Linked DNA regions of Homo sapiens: regions 1 and 3 are each linked to region 2. The links are contacts of gene promoters, found by promoter capture Hi-C in blood cells and fetal thymus (Javierre and others, 2016). All regions are on one chromosome and are shown on one strand. The core of a region is centred on a gene start or on the middle of the fragment in contact, and the rest is flanking DNA. Distances in the headings are between cores, read along the strand shown. Region 1 overlaps SLC44A5 (solute carrier family 44 member 5). Region 2 holds the start of SLC44A5 (solute carrier family 44 member 5). Region 3 overlaps SLC44A5 (solute carrier family 44 member 5).

Evidence for each region. Contacts are between HindIII fragments. The CHiCAGO score rates a contact against its expected background, and 5 or more counts as called.
Region 1: a fragment that was not itself captured here is called in contact with the fragment with the promoter of SLC44A5 in region 2 in 1 of 17 cell types (M1 macrophages); the score reaches 5.1 in M1 macrophages.
Region 3: a contact is called between a fragment that was not itself captured here and the fragment with the promoter of SLC44A5 in region 2, in 2 of 17 cell types (endothelial precursors and M1 macrophages). The highest score is 7.8, in endothelial precursors.

Annotation. Positions count from the first base shown.
Region 1 is chr1:75,243,511-75,247,855 of GRCh38, reverse strand. All of the region lies in intron 7 of SLC44A5 (solute carrier family 44 member 5), which reads left to right. Among named protein-coding and RNA genes, the nearest start is that of LHX8, 110 kb to the right of the region's middle. The HindIII fragment of the contact is 4,710 bases long and covers 278-4,345 here.
Region 2 is chr1:75,607,983-75,612,763 of GRCh38, reverse strand. It overlaps SLC44A5 (solute carrier family 44 member 5), which reads left to right and starts at 1,650. Exons shown (of 24, transcript NM_001130058.2): 1 at 1,650-1,724. The HindIII fragment of the contact is 10,824 bases long and covers 1-4,781 here.
Region 3 is chr1:75,227,745-75,232,653 of GRCh38, reverse strand. SLC44A5 (solute carrier family 44 member 5) reads left to right here. Exons shown (of 24, transcript NM_001130058.2): 13 at 4,797-4,909. Among named protein-coding and RNA genes, the nearest start is that of LHX8, 96 kb to the right of the region's middle. The HindIII fragment of the contact is 350 bases long and covers 3,313-3,662 here.

The DNA of each region.
Region 1 (4,345 bases), core at 1,383-3,882, 370 kb after region 2:
CAAGCTTTTATCCCTACTTCAATTTCCCCTAAACAATACCATCGACCTCAACATTATTAAGCTAATGGTTAGTATTAAATCCACATTTACTTGATCTAACAACAGTATTTAATCAATCCCACCTCCTTAAAATACCTTTTTCACCTGGCTTCCAGGGCACAACATTCTTCTATATTTCCTCCCAACTCTCTGTCTACTCCCTATCAGTCTCCTTTGATGAGTTATCTTAATCTTTCTAACATCTTTTAAACACTGCATTTCCCTCCCACAAGAAGCTTGGTCCTTTTCTAAGTCTGTATTTACTTTTTTGATGATCTCACCTAGTCCATTGGGTTTAACACCATCTACTTGCTGACTTCTCAAATTTACATCTCCAAATAAATCTGCTCCTTGAGTTCCAGACCTTTCTATCCAACCACCCATGTGATATTTCTACATGAATATTTGGTTGGCATCTCAAATTTAACATGTCCACAACTGAATTCCTAATCTCTGACTTTATCCCTAAAATTGTTCCCCACCCCAATGTATTCCCTGTCTCAATTAATGCCAGCTCCAAATACCTTGATTTCTACCTTATCCTTGATTTCTCTCTCTCTCATACCCATGTTTGAGCTCTCCTTAGGTCTCCCTCCAAAATGTACCCTGAGCCAAACTATTTCTCACCACCTCTTCCCTAGTTCAAGGAGCCATCACCTCTTTTTTAGATTAGTTCAAGGATCTCCTGACTGGTCTTTCTGTTTCTGTCCTTGCCCCCTTATCCTTTGCAGTCTCTTTTCCACCCAGTAACCAGTGTGGTCCTGTTAAATATAAGTCTGATTATGTCTCTTCTTTGCTTAAATGCCCCAATAGCTTCCCAAGTTACTTATATGAAAAGCCAAGGTCCTAACAATGACCTGTAAGATCCTTCACTGTCTGACCCACTCTCTGACCACATATCCTATTCTACTCCCTTTTCTCACTACACTTGGGTCACACTGGCCATTTGTTGTACTAATACTTGAAAGGATCCAGGAACTCTCCTGCCTTAGAGACTTAGACTTTGCTGTTCTCCCTACCTAGAGAATTATTTTTCCAGATGACTGTATGTCTTGATTGCTCATCCTGTCCAAGAATTTCTGCAAATGTTACCTTCTTAGTGAGGCTTCTTTGACTACCTCTTCAAAATTAGAATCCCACGCAGCCACTCCTTTCTCTCTCTGTAGCCTCCTTTCCAGCCTTATTTATTTATCATCTTATACCATCTTATTTACTACTATTTATTACCATCTTATGACAAACATTTTACTTATTTATTATTTCTTATATGTCTCCCACTACCACTACTGGAAGACAAATTGCTTGAGGGCAAGGATTTTTATGTGTTGTTCACTACTATTTCTGTCCTCAGTGCCTGGAACAGGCTCAGAGTAGGGGATCAGTAAATATTTATTAAATGAATGAACAAATGACTGAATGAATGAGAGAATGAATATCTTCCTACTTCTAGTTAAGAATTTTTCCACTGTACTCTACAAATCTATCATTCCTATGATAAAACAAAATATACTTGCATATTATGCTTTTTTCTTGTTTCATAAATGAGTTACTAGATCATCTTTTCTTCATAACAAATGTGGTGTTTTAACCTTCAATGTAATTCACTCTCCCAGCCACCAAATTCCAATTTGTAACTGAGTGTTAAGACTATCTGAATTAAAGATAGAAATGGTAATACAGAGCTTTATGCAAAGTGCCCTTTGTGGTGCACAGAGAATCAGAACTGAGTCAGAATTAGCTCTTATTAGCTGAGTCATTATTGACTGCTAATAATGAAGACTTGCATTTAGTCTTCCAGACGGTGCATCTACTGATCTGAGCCATATTTCTATGCACGATGTTTTTGTTAACTGCTGGCATGGTCCAGACATGTGTCACAAGCACTTAAAGGACAGACTGTGATCAATTAGAACATCCAATCTCAATGTGACCTTCATTTTGGCTAATTATATGTTGATTACTACTAATCTGCACCCTATTTGAAGTGAACAAATTGGTCTGATAGAGGGAGAAAGTAAAGTGCAGTTGTATTGTTTTTTAACAGCTCATTTGTGTCTAGAATGAGATTTGATGTGATTCTCCTTAACAAACTACGTTTTACTATTTTAATTACTTTCTTTTATGTGTTGCATACACAGCACTTTTCTATGTGTAGTATACATTGTTTGTGTGTGCTTTATAAATACAGAATCATCATGGTCTCAATTCAGAAGTACCTACCATCATTTAAAGCCTGTGAAAGCATTAGTTCTTTCAGTACTCACTTATAAATCCATTTAAGTGTATTCAATAGAAGTAGTTCAGTTGTCTTTCAAAGTTACATGAGTCAATTGTTGAAGTCTAAATGTCTGTCAAGTATCTCCTAATATGTTAATGGTTTATTCAGCTTGGCTCCAATCAGAATGAACTTTTGACATTTGCATTGATAATCATCTTAACCTTCTAAAAGATGTGGGTGTGTTGCATGCTGTGAATGTCCCTAAATTGTTCTTCAGCTTTCTTAGAAAGATACCTATGAAGCCACTAATATTTTCTCTGAAGGTACATGAATATGCAAATGTCATTGTGTGTGTGCATGCACACGTGTGGATGAGAGACTAAGAAAGAGGAAATACATGTGGAGGTGTGGATGTGGAGATGAGTTGTTTGCCCTGCCAAAATTTCTAGAGGGAATTGAACTGCTATTGCTTCAAGAAAATATTAACTGTGAGAGAGGCCTATACATTTTGTTATTCTCCTGCTAACTTAGCTGTAGGGTCCACACCAAATGCCTTTGTGTACAGCAGGTACATAACCCAAAAGATGGAAAGGAGATGTCAGCTAAGCAGCAGTGTTTTTACCTAACTGCCAATGAGTTGAGCTACAATTTGGCCAATGAGAATAATTACCAGAGTAGGGAGATGGAGCAAGTCAGGGCTGAGAAAGATTTCAGAAGAAGGAACTAAAGGTGATGGAGAGACTTGAAAGGGTTAGCTGCAGCTCACATGGCTTCATCTGACTTTTGTTTTTTATTGTAAAAAAAAGCAAAACCAATAGTGTATCTCCTCTGATTCTGCCTTCCCTCTGTGGAGTTACTAATTGGATTTCAGTCACTCTGTGGTGGCTTCGTGAAGTAGCATGGTGATCTGGCTTGGCACTGATAGGCCCCCAAAGTTTATTAATGTAAAATAATTGCAAAGATGACCTCTCTGTCCACATTTAGATGGTATTGGTAAAAGACCATAATGATGATTGATTGTGCCAAATAGCCTTGATTTGTTAGTTTCTTATGGTGATAAAACCCCAGTTACATTTTGAGAATTGTGTTTGAGAATTCACGGGCACTAATAATTATTAGTGTCATAGGTGTTCAATATTCAGAGAATTTTAAATCATCATTTTATTCATATTTAGGAAAGGAAGGAAGATTTTAACCCTGAATATGCATTGACTACACAAGCAATATTAATCTTAAATTATACTGTAAAATCATAAAGTGTTTTATTAAAAGTCCATCTCTGTCCTGTGGTAGTGATCACACAACCACATGTCTGATAAAATGGCATAGAACTACGCACATACACAGGCACACAGAAACAAGTGAATATAAAACGGGTGAGCTCTGAGTAAGGTTAGTGTCTTCTAACTGTCTTACTCTGCTTAGTGTTGCTACAAAAGGAATACCTGACGCTGGGTAATTTATAAAGAAAAGAGGTTTGTTTGCTTATGGTTCTGCAGGCTGTACAAGAAACATGGAGCCAGCATTGCTTCTGTTGAGGGCTTCAGCTTTCTGCTTTCCACTCATACCAGAAGGCAAAGAGGAGCTGGCATGTGCAGAAATTACATGGCTAGTGAGGAAGCAAGAGAGAGGATGAGGGAGGTGCCAGGCTCTTTCTAACAACCAACTCTTGAGGGAATTAATAGATTAAGAAGCTACTCATCATCACAAGAACAAGGAGGATCTGCCCTCATGAACACCCCATTAACAGGACAGATGCTTCCCTGAACTATAAGAACAGGGTGCTGCTGCATCTATGAACCCAAACACCTCCCATTAGGCCCCATCTCCAACACTGGGGATCAAATTTCAACATGAGGTATGTGGGGACAAATAACCAAACTATACCAGTAACAATATTAATTTCCTGCTTATGATATTGTGTTATGGTTATGAAAGTTCTTACCATTGAGGAAAACAGAGTGAAAGGTATGTGAAATCCCTATTATTCCTCACAACTACATGTTGATTTACAATTATCTCAAAATCAAAAATTAAAAATAAGTCTATCACTGTATGGTATCTTGTTTTAACATAACATCAATATCA
Region 2 (4,781 bases), core at 401-2,900:
AACTTATGTTTAGGTTAATTTATTCATTTATTCATTTAGCACATATTTATTGAGCACTGAATATGTACCAGATTCTGTGCAAAACACTAGGGATACGGTAATGAACATGATAGACAATGAAGTAAGAGGAGGCCTGGAAGAAGCAGGTGACAAATAATATGAACCAGAAAATTTCACATAGTGATTAATACCAGGAGAAATAAAACAAAGTGATGTGCGAGCAAATGATTTTGAGGTTACTTTAGATTGTCTGGAAAGGTGGCATTTGTGTCGGGAAACAAGTGATGAAGAGTAATTTGCATGCCAAGAACTGGAACATAACACTTCAGGCCTTAAGGTAGAAATGAGGTGGTAGCTTGGCACATTCACATACAAAAGGAAGAGGTGTAATGTGTAAGGAAGAGACAGTTAGGGAGAAGCCAGGCCTTTTTGGTCATAAAAAGGAATATAGAGTTTAAGTGCAATGAGAAGCCATTGGATATTCACTTGCTATTTGGGGATACATTCCTCTCCTGGAAGATTATTTCAGGGAGAGGAGCATTCCTACATCAACTCCCTAGGCCAACTAAGGTGACCTAATAGACTTCACTTTTCTAAAAGGTCCAGTTATACTCACGTTATTTTCTCTTGCTATTCACCAGAATACCTATGCAATTTCAGGCTGAGATATTGATAGCATCTCTAGGAATCCCTGCTTAGAAAACAATTCTAGAGAGAATGAGGATTAATTTAACATTTAGTACAAGATGATAAGATTAGTCACTTCCCTGGCAAGCCTTTCAATGCAAGTAAGTCTTAGGAAAAACATATTGTAATGGTAGAGGGGGATTCTGAGGGGTCCAGAACATGACTGTGCAGTAGGCAGAATGTGGAAGGCAGCATGAGGGGCTCCTAGATAACAGAAAGGGGTCCACAGAAGGAGAAGAGTGATGTTTGGAAGGGGACATGAGAAAGCCTCTAAAACAACATCAGCCAATTCGTGATTTTGCCAAGTGGAAGCCTGATATGAGCATGTTCCAAGAGAAACATTCTCATTCAAACACAGAAAAAGTTTAAACCAGGGTACTTTTATGCTTTTGACTGATCTTTTTATAATGAAGCATTTGTAACAATAAAAGCACACAGATGTTTACAAAGTCTCTTTGATTTTACTTAATCACTGTCAGGTTGTTCTGATGGATTACAGACCTCACAAATGAAAATAGCATGAACATATTAATGATAACTGCTGTTTGTTGGAGGTAGTTGCTTGATAGCTAGTTAAGGAAATCATGCTCTTGGGTCTCATTTTACTGTAGAGATGTTGGTAAGTGGGATATGGGGTATATTGGATGATTTTCTTTCCCCTAAGCATTTGTGACAAGAAGGTGCTATGATATTCAGGAAAGACACAAATAATAGTAGATTATTTTAAAGGTAATCATGGCCTACTTCCACCTCCAAACTACCTACTTCTTTGCCAAGGATTAACAATGAAAAAATATACTATAGCTCCAGGACTTTGTTCAGTCTCCTCCCCCTCTTTATACTCCAAGTGACTCCTTTGAGGCTAGCAAGGCTAGTAGGACCTCAGGGATTACCTAAGAATGGGGTATGGCCCTTAGTGATACTGGAACACAATGTGTTTATGACATCAGCTTTTTTTTCACAGTAGTGAATCGTAGCATGTTAGAGTTAGAAGGTTCAGTGTTGATGGAGTTATTGAAGAAATGATGGAGTAAGAGGTGAGTGATACTGCTAAATGCAAGAAGTCTATGTCTGTAGGAAAATTGGTCAAGTTTGTTATTCATAAGTACGTATTCTATACAACTCAAGAAATACACACACACACACACATATATATAGTGAAGTCTGAATATAAATTAGGAACTGAGCACTTCCTCTCCGTGTGTGTGTGTGTATATATATAGATATCCTGGGGGATTATTTAAAGAGAGTAGTATTTTTACATCAGCTCCCTAGGCCAAGTAAGGTGACCCAATGGACTTCACTTTTCTAAAAAGTCCAGTTACACTTATGTATCTTCTCTTAATATTCACCAAAATATCGACAATATTTCGGGCTGAGATGTTGATAACATCTCTAGGAATCCTTACCTACTGGTATTCACACCTGTTCATACTCCCCTTCCAAAATGAATCACAGCTGACCATGTGATCAGTACTGTACAGCAGAAAACTACATCATAAAGACATACACTATGGCTTCTGCCTTGTTCTTTTGTATTCTTTGCTTTCTTATGTTGCTCATTTTGGGGAAACCAGATGCCATGTTTTAAAAATACTCAAGGATCCCTTGGATTATTTTTTGAAGCAGAGGTTCATACAGATATTATTAACATTTCAGCCCAAAATATTGTCGGTATTTTGATGAATAGTAAGAGAAGATACATAAGTATAACTGCACTTTTTAGAAAAGTGAAGTCCATTGGGTCACCTTACTTGGCCTAGGGAGCTGATGTAGAAATATTGCTCTCTCTAAATAATTCTCCAGGATATCTATGTGTATATAGGTATATGTATGTATATGTATATACCTATGGAGAGAGAAGAAGAGCTCAGTTCCTAATTTATATTCAGACTTCACTATGTGTGTGTGTGTGTGTGTGTGTGTGTGTGTGTGTGTGTATTTCTTGACTTGCATAGAAGTCTTGAATCTTAGCTCTGTGTGGGAAGAACTGAGGCCTCCTGCTAATAGCAACAACTTGCTAGTTATGTGAGTGATCTATCTTGGGAACAGACCCTGCAACCAAGTCAAGCCTTCAGATGACTGTAGCTTCAGCCAACATCTGACTGAATTTCATGATAGCCCCGACCCAGAGCTATCCAATCAAGCTGCTTCTGGATTCCTGAATCACAGAAACCATAAGATATAATAAATGCTTACTCTTGTCTTAAACCACTAAAATTTGGGGGTAATAGGTTACATAACATTAGATCATGAATATACCTGTGGTTCATTATTTTTGCACCTCTATCATGAAATGTAATATTTGTTACTAGTTCCAACACTGATCTTGAATCTTAGCCCTCTTTCCTATTTAGTGAATTGGGCTGAAACCCTGAAGTTCTCTTTTCTTGTTTCCCTTGAGTTTCTTGTAGCAGCTTGCTTTCTCCTCTGCTTTTTTGAGTACTGATTCCTGGCTCCTCTAGTTCATTTAGTTTAGAAGATACTTTCCAAATTGAAGCACTACCGAACCAAAAATCAGAGTGATAAAGAGAATACAAAAGCCCTAAAATCTCCCAACAGCACAAGATTTCACAGTCCTCCAAACTAAGAAGATAGAAAGTTTCTTAAAATCTACAATCTTTTATTCTCACCATCAAAAATAAGAATGTAAGGTAATGAATATGTTAAATAGCTTGATTTAGCCATTCCACAATGTGTATATATATCAAAACATCAGGTTTCACACCATAAATATATAAATTTTTACTTGCCAATTAAAAAAGAAAAAACCCAAAGAAATGAAACCCTAAAATATTCAAATAAAAACCTTTCCAGCTGTATTTATCTATTCCTCCTTACCAAAGAATCCCTTCCTCCTCCCAGCCCAGTTAGTCCTTTGAGGTATAAATAGGAGACTGAGAAAGAGGATTTAAGAAAGGAAGGTTGCCGTCTCTTCTACTTGAGAGTAGGATATTAATCTATTTTATTCGTTCATGTAGTTCTCTATTCATTCAATAAGTGTTAATCAATCGCTTACTATGTACTGGGCACTATTCTAAGCATGCTTGGGATAAATCAGGGAACAAAATGAATTCTTCATGAGGTTTACACTATACATAGGGAAGACAAACAATGAATAATAAGCATGAATACATTGTTGATATTAAAAATTGAAAAGTGCCATGACAGAAAGAAAAAAAAATGAGCATAGTAAGGGGGATTTGGATTGCTAATCATGGGATGATGGTGGGCCAGCTGCAAGTATTAATAGGGTGGTTAGGGTAGGACCAATTGACGAGGTAATATTGAAGGACATGAAGCAGTGGAAGGGGAGGAGACTTCCAGAAGGAAGGAAAAGCCAGAGCAAAGACCCTACAGTGAAAATATACCTGGTATGTTTGACTAACAGAAAGAAGACCAAGTGGAATTAGTAAGGGGGATAGAAATAGAAAATGAAGTCAGAAAGATGAGGGAAGACTAAATTATATTAAACTTTTTAGAAAGTTTTAAGACTTTGGTTTTTACTCTGGGGAAATGTGGCACCAGTTCAGATTTTGAACAGAGGAAAAATATGATCTGACTTACATTTTAAAATAATTGCTACGGCGACTGTGTTGAGAATATCGAGCCAATATGTAGGGGTAATGAGAAACTAGAAGACTAGTAAGGAATCTTTTGCAATAACTCTTTAAAAATTTTCTTCTTCTGGTGGCTGAATAATACTCCATTGTGTACACACACAACACACACACACACACACACATACCCCTCACATTTTGTTTATCCATTCATCTGTGGATAGACACGTAGGTTGATTCCATATCTTTTTCTCTGGAAAAATATATTTTCAGTTCCTTTGCCTATTTTTAAGTTGGGTTATTTGTTTTTTTTTGTTTTTTGTTTTGTTTTGTTTTGTTTTTGCTATTGACTTACAACAACATGGATAAACCTGGAGGACTTTATACTAAGTGAAATCAACCAGGCACAAAAAGAAAAATACTGTATGATCTCACTTATATGTGGAATCCAAAATTATTGAACTCATAGAAGCAGTGAGTAGAATGGTGGTTGCCAAAGGCTGGGGGAGTGGGAGAAGTGAGGAGATACTAGTC
Region 3 (4,909 bases), core at 2,238-4,737, 380 kb after region 2:
TTATTACCCTCCTCATTATCTCCAATGAGTTTTTAGTAAATCATTTGGACTTCTCAGGTGTTCCCTATCTGCTCCTGCTGTACGGCTCCTCTTGCATCCCACCTGAGCTTCTTATTGAGCACAGCCAGGTAACAAATAAGAGGTGGATCAGTCTGGTCCAGGAACACAAGAACTTTCATGCCCTAATCAGAAACTGCAAAAAAAAAAGTTGTTTAAACATCTTGTTTTTGTGTTCCTGCTTGGAGCTTAAAATAAACTCTGCCCTTTGCCACTGGAGAGTCTGGGCTTGTGATTCAATCACTCTTGCATTGTCATCAGGAAGGAAAGGGCAGTAAAGTCTGCTATTGACTTAACTGATGTCTTAAGTAGCAAGAAAAATCTGAGATTGGCTGTAGTGCAGTTTTGACAATGGCAAAAAGGAGAAACATGGTCAACATATAAAAAGTGCAGGTAAAACAACTTAATTTTCGCTCCCTATTGACTCCCTAGATAGTATTAACCCAAAAATTAATGGTGTAGGAAGTAAGCTTGACAGTAATTTACTGAGGGAGGAAAGGTCCAGTTAGGTTGAGGAGTGTCAGAAAATAAGACTACATGTAACTGACCTCTGCTACTATCCTGGACAATTGACTTTCTACATATCATGAGAAACCAATTTTTTCTACTGAAATTTCCTACTGACAGCAGCCCATTTACTAGAGCAAATAACAATGTGGATGTGTCATACTGAGCAGAGAAAAAGCCAGACTGTTTGTGGGCAAGTGTTTATGAACAGCAATGGAACAATTCTCATTGGCCAGAACAGGTTAAGAGGTATACAGGAGAAGACATATAACACTTTGGTTTATGAGCATCTATTTAAGGTATGAAAAAGGCACGATCCCAGATTCATCACATATTAACTGTATGATCCTCTGCAAGCATACAGTTTTCTTTAATTCATAGGTTTCTCAATCATATAACAGGAATATGTGACTACTAAACAAAATAATGCTTATAAAGTACTTAGATTTTGCTAGCATATAGTAAATGTTCAATAAATAATGTCTATTTTTGTTGTTGCTGATATTATTGTTATTCAGGAATATTATTGAGGAAAGAGGACTTGAAGTCCAGAGATCATAATTTTTAAAAATCTAGGACAAGAGAGAGAAAGCAAAGAAAGAGAAATTGGAAAATATTGTCTAGACTTTCACATTCACTAGTAGGAGGAAAGTAAACTGTCTGAAGGGCCTTCTTGCTATGAAATCGTGACATTAAAAAGAGGATTGCGCTGTATTGTTTTATATAATACATTGTTTTGATAAACTTTAGGAAATAAAGGAAATCTCCTCCAAATGAAAAAAATAACTCATGAGCTAAAATCAAAGCGGGGAACCAAGCAGGAAGCACTGGGTAACCCATAGCAGTGCTGGGATCGGGAGACTTAGACCTGAGTTGGCAGCAGAACAGGGGATCATACCTGAAACTCCTGGAGTAAGTCTGGCATCCTAGAAATGTCTAAAATGACCCCAGTTTGTTAGTACCCTTTGACTGCCAAAATAAACAAATGTAAATCTCCTCTAGATGAAAGTTTCCTCAATTAACATCACCAGGTTTTCACAGATTCAGATCAATAAAGTCCGAGACTACCTGACCTGCAAGAAAACAGTTCTGTGTGAAAATCAGTGGATACTATAAACATGAGATTGAGGTCTCCAAGAATTCAAATATGGGAATTAATAGATATAGAACATGTAGCTGGCTGCAGTGGCTCACTCCTATAATCCTAGCACTGTGGGAGGCCGAGGCGGCCAATCACTTGAGGTGAGGAGTGGGAGGCCAACCTGGCTAACGTGGTGAAACCCTGTCTCTACTAAAAATACAAAAATTAGCTGGGCATGATGGTGCATACCTGTAGTCCCAGCTACTTGGGAGACTGAGGTGGGAGAATTGCTTGAATCTGGGAGGAGGAGGTTGCAGTGAACCGAGATCATGCCACTGCACTCCAGCCTGGGCAACAGAATAAGACTCTGTCTCAAAAGACAAAAACAAATCAAGAAAGAAAGATATAGAACATGAAATAACCATGCATGAAAGGTTTAAAGAATTAAAGATAGAATCACAGCCAGGTACAGTGGCTCACACCTGTAATCCCAGCACTTTGGGAAGCTAAGGCAGGTGGATCGCAAGGTCAAGAGATTGAGACCATCCTGGCCAACATGGTGAAACCCCGTCTCTGCTAAAAAAAATATAAAAATTAGCTGGGCATGGTAGCACACACCTGTAGTCCCAGCTACTCGGGAGGCTGAGGCACGAGAATTGCTTGAACTCAGGAGGCGGAGGTTGCAGTGAGCTGAGATTGTGCCACTGCACTCCAGCCTGGGTGACAGAGCGAGACTCTGTCTCAAAAAAAAAAAAGTGAATTCATTCATTCATGGACATGGAGTATCATTTATTAAAGGCTTGGGCAACAAAAATAAAAATCAACAAAAACGTCCAGGCATACATGAAGAAGAGCCATATAGAACTTTTCAAAATAAAAATGTTAGATTAAAAACTAATTGATAAGCTAAACAGCAAAATAGAGAATTAATGAACTGAAATATGAATCTGAAGTAATTACCAAAAATATAGCAGAATGTAACAAGGGGACAAAAATATGATTGTGTGGTTCAAAGAAATAGAAAATAGGTTGAGAAAGGCCTAACATATATCAACCATATTTGAAAGCTCTTGGCTGAGAATTTTCTAGAACCGATGAAACCATGGATCCATAGATATAGGAAGCCCTCATTATACTAAGGAGAGTAAAGGAAGAGAAATCCACATCTAGTCATACATTATTCTGTTTATTCAACAAATATCAATTGAACAGCTGCTGTGTACAGACACTATTTTAGACTCTTGATGTACAACAGTAAAGGAACAGACTAAGGTTCTTACTCTCATGATGCTCATAGCCTAAGTAATATATATCTTAGAAGGTGGTTATTGCTATGGAAAAAAGAAAAGGTAGAGCAGGTAAGGGGAGATTGAGAATGCCATGGTAGGGCAAGGAGTGAAAATGGCAGTATTAGCAGGAGGGCTCTTTTGGGGAAAATATCTAAGAAAACACTTGGAAGCAATGGAGTTAGACAGTTAAGATGAAGGAAAAGTTCCAGACAGTGGGTACAGCTGGAGCAAAGGCCTTATAACATAAGAGTGTGTTGAAGAAGTGGCTGAGAGCTTGGTGTGGATGGGTGTACTGAGTAAAGGAAAAAATAGTAGGAGATGAGGTCATAGAATTTATGAAGGGGGCAGAGCCTTACAGATTATTATAAAACCTAAGCTTTTACTCTGAATGAAACAGGGAGGCAATGTAGGGCTTTGGGTAGCAAAGAGATGAGATATAATGATTGCCCTAGTCCCTGTGTTGAGAATAGACCATGGTGAGGCAAGAGTGGAAGCAACGAGACCAGTAAGGAGATGATTGCAGAAATTTATATGCCAAATGAGAGAAACTCTTGAGGGTGGCCATACATGCTTTTATTTGTATAATAGCTGTATTTCCTGATGGATTGAATGCAGCTATGAGAGACAGAAGAAGGAGAATGATTCCACAGAAATATATGAGATGTAATACAAAAATAAAAAATAAAAAAAAGAAAACATAGTGAGCAAAGAATATAAATTAGTAAGCTTTTAGGTAAAGCTAAACAAACTTTGCCTGCATAAAATAATAATTGCTTTAGACATTGGACACTAAAATTATTATTTTATGCAGGCAAAATTTGTTTAGCTTTACCTACATGCTAACTAATTTATTTAAAATGTACATAACAAAATTATTGAGCAATAATTAGAGTGGGTGATTATTGAGTAACTAAGGTCTTGTATTTCCTTGTTAACATATTGACTCTAGGCTTATTAAAAAAAGAACAGATTTTCAAGGTAATCTATTATAAAAATAGAGTAGATTGCTCAAAAAGAGTAGAGAAGAAAAATGGAATATAAGTAAACAAACAAAAAATCATCAATTTTTAAAAGACAAGAATTGGAAGAAAAGAAGTATAGACACAAAGTAGAATACGAAAAGCAAAATTAAGAACATAGAAACAAATATAAATATATCAGTATATAAAGTATAAATATGTTAAACTCACCAATTAGAATACAGAGATTGTCAGGTCAGATTAAAATATACACATACAAATTGGAGCTATAAATTATTTATAAAAGTTATACAACATGTAAGGAAACAGAACATTTGCAAGTGAAGGGATGGAAAGAATATACTAGCAATCAATAACAAAAGAAAGTGGAAGAAGACATAATATCAGACAAAACAGATTTTAGAATGACAATGTTATGGATAAAAATGATTTAGTTCACTAAAAATATGCCAACCCTAAACTTGTTACATCTATTAAAATAACCTCAAAAATCATAGAATTGCAAGGATAAATAAATAAATGGATAATCATAAATTCGTATTAGGTATAAACCTTAGGAGGAGTTTTTGACGCATCTTTCTACTGAACAAATATATCATGATGTCTTACTGATGGACATTAAGGTCATTTCTAGTCAAAAGGACATTTAAAGCCAGATGTTGCCATAATTATCAAGACAAATACTGAAAACATTTATATCAAATACAGTAGCATGTTTAGACTATTGGATCCAAATAAAATATTTGCTGTGTAAATATGTGTCTTGCCTTTGCAGAAATTACCATGCTGATCAGTTTCATATAGATATGTATGATGAGCACATATAGCTCCTATTTCAGAAAATCATATTTTATATTATTCTGTTTTTCTTTCTTTTTCAAGGAATATGGCACTGTTACCAGCAGTACACCAATCTTCAGGAACGCCCAAGTTCTGTATTAACTATCTATGACATCGGGATTCAGACTAACATAAGCATGTACTTTGAACTGCAA